Regions from separate parts of the Homo sapiens genome. Here region 1 is linked to region 2. The links are contacts of gene promoters, found by promoter capture Hi-C in human tissues and cell types (Jung and others, 2019). All regions are on one chromosome and are shown on one strand. The core of a region is centred on a gene start or on the middle of the fragment in contact, and the rest is flanking DNA. Distances in the headings are between cores, read along the strand shown.

What was found. The method cuts DNA at HindIII sites, captures the fragments that hold promoters and counts their contacts. A contact is called where the count stands out against the background at its distance.
Region 1: a contact is called between a fragment that was not itself captured here and the fragment with the promoter of TOM1L1 in region 2, in 1 of the 25 tissues and cell types used here (dorsolateral prefrontal cortex).

The regions. Positions count from the first base shown.
Region 1 is chr17:53,425,818-53,429,023 of GRCh38, reverse strand. No RefSeq gene overlaps it. Among named protein-coding and RNA genes, the nearest start is that of KIF2B, 400 kb to the left of the region's middle. The HindIII fragment of the contact is 3,801 bases long and covers 1-3,206 here.
Region 2 is chr17:54,899,460-54,902,350 of GRCh38, reverse strand. It overlaps TOM1L1 (target of myb1 like 1 membrane trafficking protein), which reads right to left and starts at 1,499. Exons shown (of 16, transcript NM_005486.3): 1 at 1,428-1,499. The coding sequence starts at 1,485. LOC124904033 (a long non-coding RNA gene) reads left to right here and starts at 1,614. Exons shown (of 2, transcript XR_007065854.1): 1 at 1,614-2,891. RefSeq lists enhancers at 1,185-1,274, 1,295-1,404 and a silencer at 1,485-1,824. The HindIII fragment of the contact is 7,312 bases long and covers 530-2,891 here.

The DNA of each region.
Region 1 (3,206 bases), core at 541-3,040, 1.5 Mb after region 2:
GATACACTGGGGGTACAGGCACTGGGTAAATACTCCCATTCTGAAAGGGATATATAGCCCAAAGGAAAGGGGCTGCAGCCCCGTGCAAGTCTAAAACCCAGCAGGGAAGTTATTCAATCTTAAAGCTCCAAAATAATCTCCTTTGACTCTTTGTCTCACATACAGGGCACACTAGTGCAAAGGGTGGGCTCCCAAAGCCAAGGGCAGCTCTGCCTCTGTGGCTCTCTAGGTTTCAGCCCCTACAATTGCTCCCAGTGGCTGGGGTTGAGTTCATGCAGCTTTTCCAGGTGCAAGGTGCAAGCTGCTGCTGTATCTATCATTCCAGGGTCTGGAATATGGTGGCCTTCTTCTTGTAGCTCCACTAGGAAGTGCCCCAGTGGGGACTCTGTGTGGGGGCTGTAACCTCACATTCTCCCTTTGCTCTGCCCTAGTATAGGTTCTCCATGAGGGCTCCCTCCTTCAGCAAGCTTCTTCCTGGACAGCCAGGCTTTTCCAAACATTCTCTGAAATCTAGGCAGAGGATCCCAAGCCTCAACTCTTGCACTCTGTGTACCTACAGGCCTTATACCACATGAAAGCTGCCAAGGCTTATGGCTTACACTCTCTGAAGCAGTAGCCTGAGCTATATCTGGTTCCCTTTGAGCCATAACTGGATCTGGAGAAGCTGGGATATGGGGAGCAGTGTCCTGAGGTGTGCAGAGCAGCAGACCCTAGGCCTGGCCCATGAAACTATACTTTCCTCCTAGGCCTTTAGGCCTGTGATGGGAGAGGGTGCAAGGAACTTCTCTAAAATGCCATCTTGGCCTTTTTTCCCATTGTCTTGGCTATCAGTGCTTACCTTCCTTTTAGCTATGCAAATTTCTGCAGCTTGCTTGAATTCCTTCCAAGAAAACAGGCTTTTCTTTACTATCACAGAGCCAGTCTGCAATTTTTTTAAATGTAAATTCCCGTTTAAGGTCATTTCTTTGTTCACACACATGAGCATTTGCTGTTAGAAGCAGCAGGGCCAAATCTTGAATGTTTTGCTGCTTAGATATTTTCTCTACCACGTACCCTAAATCATCATTCTCAAGTTCAATGTTCCACAGACCTGACGGGCAGGGGCACAGTCTAACCAAGCTCCATGCTAAAGCATAGCAAAAGTGAACAATCCAGCCATTTCTGTAACCACTTCCATTTTTTGCTCATCACTTTCGTTTTTCTGTCCATAAATAATCTTCTACTATGAAGCTTCAGGGTAACCTCTCTGAACCTCTTCTGGTTCAGGCTATCTGATTTACCAAATGTTCTTTGCTCAGCTAAACTCTGTTAAATTACATTTGTCTAAGGCTTTTCTTTTAACAAGAATTACAGCTAGTATAGTAATAAATCAGTATTGGTGTTTTGTGTTGTTTAAGAGAAAAAGAAGCATAAGCAGGTGTTTTAACCCCTAGTACAGAGAATTCAGGTCACCAGATTAAATGCCCCCTTGCAGGAAACTTTTTCTCATATTTCTAGAGGTTTCGGTCATTTATTTTATTTTGTTTATCCCCAGTGGCTTTTCCAGTTTTAAATGAAGAACCAAATACATTGTGAGGGCGGAGAAGATTTTGGAGGTTCTATGCTTTATATTTATAAGAAATGTATTGTAGAATGAACATCTCCCACTTTCAAATCAACTGTGTTAGAATTAAGGCTTTCAAGGCCCTATGACTTTATCTAGATGGCTTGAACAGTTTACTTTCAGTTCTTTAGTACTTACTGTAGCAAATTATTTAAAGTTCTACCAAATCAATTGCACTTTTATTCTAAATAGGGCTGCATATCAAACCTAAATAACTGATTTCTAATCTCTGACTTGTGTAGTCTCTCTCACTAATTATTTCTCTATAAATAGCCATCTGACTGGCTTTTTAACCCAAGCTATTTGAAAGTCTTTCCATATGTTCTGTGAAATATGACTATGTTCCTTAATCTTTTTAATGACTATTTATTTCCTGGGGTTGTCTATGCTTTCAATCTAGGAAGCTCATTCCTTAATCCTCTTGACCATTTGCTGTCCATATCTGATGGTATCCTATAGAACTTCGCTCTCTATCAAAATCACAATGACGTTTTTTTAAACACCATAATTATGCTTTCGGTACTCTAGTCTGTGTTCCTCCTCACCAGGTGTTTCAGTTCTTATGCACCTAACCCTATGCCAGCTATTTTTCTGTGTATTTCCCCTTCCTCCTCCTATATTACTATTAGAAATCTTGGTCTATTTCAGGGATTCCTAAACTGATGCACGTTAGAATCAGCTGGAATGAACTTGTGAAACAAACTTGCCTGGGACTCATCCAAGACATATTTAATCTGAGATGAGGCAAGATTAAGCAATGGTAAATTCAAAAGCTTTCCCATGTGGGAGGGGTGGAGGTGGGGGTGAGGAGGATCTGGAATGCACAGCTATGATGGAGAATCACCGCTTGATTACTGCTTCCATTCTCATCTGCTTACTCTTATATTTATCACCTGAGGTGCACAGGAAATCTTAGGAAAAAAATTAAAATGTCTGATCTTTGTAAAATCTATAACAGCATGAGACATTAAAAGTGTGACTCATGATAGAATTAAGGATTTCAGTGGTATTTAAATTGAAATATAATAATTGAGAAATACATGTCTAATATGTAGATTCAGTTTTGTTTTATGTTACATTAATAAGTTACAGAGCACAAAATGGATATTATACAAAAGTGTCTAATTAAAAAGGGCCACATGCAAATTTTAAAAATCCTTAAGGAAGTATAAAAATTATAATAAATTATTTTGTATATCTACAAACTAGAGCAAAGTCAGAGCTTTGGGATTAGATGCTACAAAGTGGTTGTGAACCAATTAAAGGCCAGGAACATTCTTCTGTCTTTATTCTCCTAGCCAAAAAGAAGTCTTGAATCTGCTTTGTCAAAGAAAGCATTTCCTGGATGATCGTTCTATTCAGTGTATTTCTGGGAAGGTCTTTGCCCGCATCGGCGTTTTATTAAAAGTGATTGATTGAGCCAAGATGGAAAAGAGGCATGTTTTAAGGATGTTTCATATTAGGCAGAGATAAAGTTCTATGTTTCCTTAAAATTGGGAAAGTAGGCTTGGAAATAGAAATCAGATTCAAATATCAAAAAACTAAGCCTTACTTTTTAAGAATAATCTTGTTCTCTAATAGGAGGCATAAAATAACAGAGAGT
Region 2 (2,891 bases), core at 250-2,749:
CTGCACTCCAGCCTGGGTGTCACTCCCCGTCTCAAAACAAAAACAAAAACAAAAACAAAACAACAACAACAAAAAACTTGAATCTGGCACCGAATGGACAAAGCTTACCTCCCTAGAAAAGAAAACTCCTATTCACCCTTCAAAAGCCACGCAGAATTCATTTCTCCCTTCTCCTAAGTTTTGTGTGTTTTGCATTTTCTTGCATTGCAAAGGTGCCACACAAAACTGTGCCCGTCTTCTCTACAAGAAAGTGAGTTCCCTCAGGTTTGAGACCACGTCTCACCTTGGCCTCACCAGTGCCTGATCCAGGTCCAGGCACATAGCTGACAGTTAGTCCATGTTTACAGAATTAAAAAATTAAGCAGAAGAACTGCTGAAGTTTCGTTTGCCTATGAAGACACAGTCTGAATCCATTTCTGCTTGGGGTTCATTCTAATATCCAAAAAAGCACAGCCATTAAGGGAAAGCATCTCCTCAATGGTAGCTACTCTGACCATCTTATAAGGATGTGTAAACTAAGGTTCTGTTTAAGTGGTGTGTTCGGTGTCACAGCAGTTAGTAGAGCTGTGATCTAAATTTTCCAAATCTGGGCCTCTTTACTACAACTACTAGGTTCTCACGATTTCATCACCCCACTAAGTTCCTGACATCATCACACTTTGCCTGGCATTAATATGCACTCGTGCCACACCCAATTCCCAAGGGAGGAATCAGGGAAAAGAAGGAGCAGTGAGCTGGTGCTGGTAGGAGTCCAATCACTGGCTTCTACATACATCATGCAAGGTACATCCGGAGGAGAGAGAAATCATTTAGGTGGATGCTGGTGTAGTCCCTAGTGGCCTGCGAGAGACCTCCGTGGCCCCAGATGGCTCCTATGTTCCCCTCCTCTTCACTCCAATGCCAAGCATTTTCATTCTCTTTGTTTACCCAGAAAAGTAATCCAGGTTGTATAAGCTTGGCACTAGAGAAAACTGGTTTGGGGAGACCTGCCCCTCACAGTAAGGCCACATCACTTAGTCTCCCAGAGCCTCCTCTTCTGATCTGTAAAACGGGCATAACAATACCGTGCCCTGGAGAATGTGCCTTTAGGAATAACTTCCCCTACCGAGAAGTTTCTGGTGTCTCCTCGTGGAGGCCCAAACACTCCATGCCTGACTCCCGCGGTTCACCTGTTTGGTTCCACTCCCCAGGCGGCATCGAAAGGAAGGTACATTTTTGAGGACTGAGGTTCTACAGTGAGTTGGCCAAGAAGGAAACGACGAAAGGGGGCCGGGTGGAATGCGGGTGCCTTGGGAAAGTTGCGGGGGGAGGGGAATAATTTTTTCAAGTTGGACTAACTCCGTCCTCTGCAGGCCGAGAATGGATCAAGCAGGAAAGGATCCCACGGTCCCCTGCCTGCCTGGGCGTCTCTCCCCGCGCCTCCTTACCTATGAGGTGGCCCACGGAGGTCGCGTAGGGATCCCGGTGACTCTTGCCAAACGCCATGGTAGCGCCAGAGGGCCGGGCCCAGGAAATCCGCCTCCACCGCTCTCCGGCTCCCGACTCCACCCGCTCGGTACCCTTGGCTCCTCCTCTTCGCCCGAGCGCTTCCCGGGCTCTGGCAGAGGCGGTGCGTTCTGCGCTGCCGCTGCGGGGCGCGGGCACCGAGCGTGAGGAGCTGGGCGCGGGGCAGGGACGCGAGGGCGGGGCTTCGGGACGCCCAGCGCACCTGCAGCGCGCCCTGCGGGACCCGCGAGGAGGCTGCGCTGCCGGCTGCAGGTGGTACAGGCGGGTAGTGGCGGGTGTATGGAGCCTGCGAGAGTGGCGCGGCCGCCCGCTCGGATCCCAGGTGGGCTTTTCGCCCCGTGCAGGAGGAGCAGGCAGCCCAGAATCTCCAGCCTGGGAATTAGAGACCCAGGCTTTGATCCTGCCGCTTGCTGGGCACCTTGTCATTCTTCTCTGCGCCTCTTTGGCTGCCCTGGGTAGACCAAAGATAATAGGGGGTTAATAACACAAACCTCAGAATTATGAGAATTAAGGGAAGGACGTAACCGATTATGTCGGTGTCTGGTACCCACAAAATAAATAGTTAGCCACTGAATATACTGAATAACTAGAAATATTTACCCTCGACCTGCCTTTGTCCTAGAGATCCGGGAGGGGAGGTGTGCGCCCTGCCCTTTAAAGTTGTGGTCATGTCTAGGAGGAAGGATTGGCTTCGAATTTAGGGCTTCCCAGGAGCAGGCCCTCTTTGTCTCTCTACTATTTCCTCGAGGGACCACAGGGCGCCGCCTCGCAAGCTCTTGTTTTCTAACCCCACCTTCTGGGAGCCGTGTTTTCCAGCCTGATTCTAAAAACGGGAGAGGGGCTTTCCGTTTCTTCTGGCAAGGAGTATGCTTGGCTTTAGGCCTGCTTTGTAATGTAGGTTGGAATCTGAGAAGCCCAACACCTTTCCAGCTGCCCCTTCAGAACCAGAATTTATTTCCTATTCCTTTGCATTCAATTAACATCTGATTGGCGATGTTAACAATCTCCAGCCAGCAGGAGCCTGCCAGAGAGTGAGGTGTCCCCAGGCGATGTCAGATAGCCATAGATGAGCTCCTGGTGCTTGTAGATCCTGTTTCCTGTAGTCTAACTGCCACCCATTTCAAGTCTGTTTTTTAGCCCTGGAGATGGTGACTAGGGAGACGAAGGGGACCTGTTTTGACTTATGTCCGTGGTCTTGTGAATTTTAATATAGAGGTCAAAACCAATTGCCATGCACTCCAGGAGGCTAACATTTAATTATCTGTAACTCAATTATTTATAATTTTTCTTGACCAAAGTGAGCCAAAACCTGGGATTCTAAAATCTAGAATGAAATATTCTTGTTGTGATGATATGTCTCATAATGGGATTTGTCCCACGTGTAA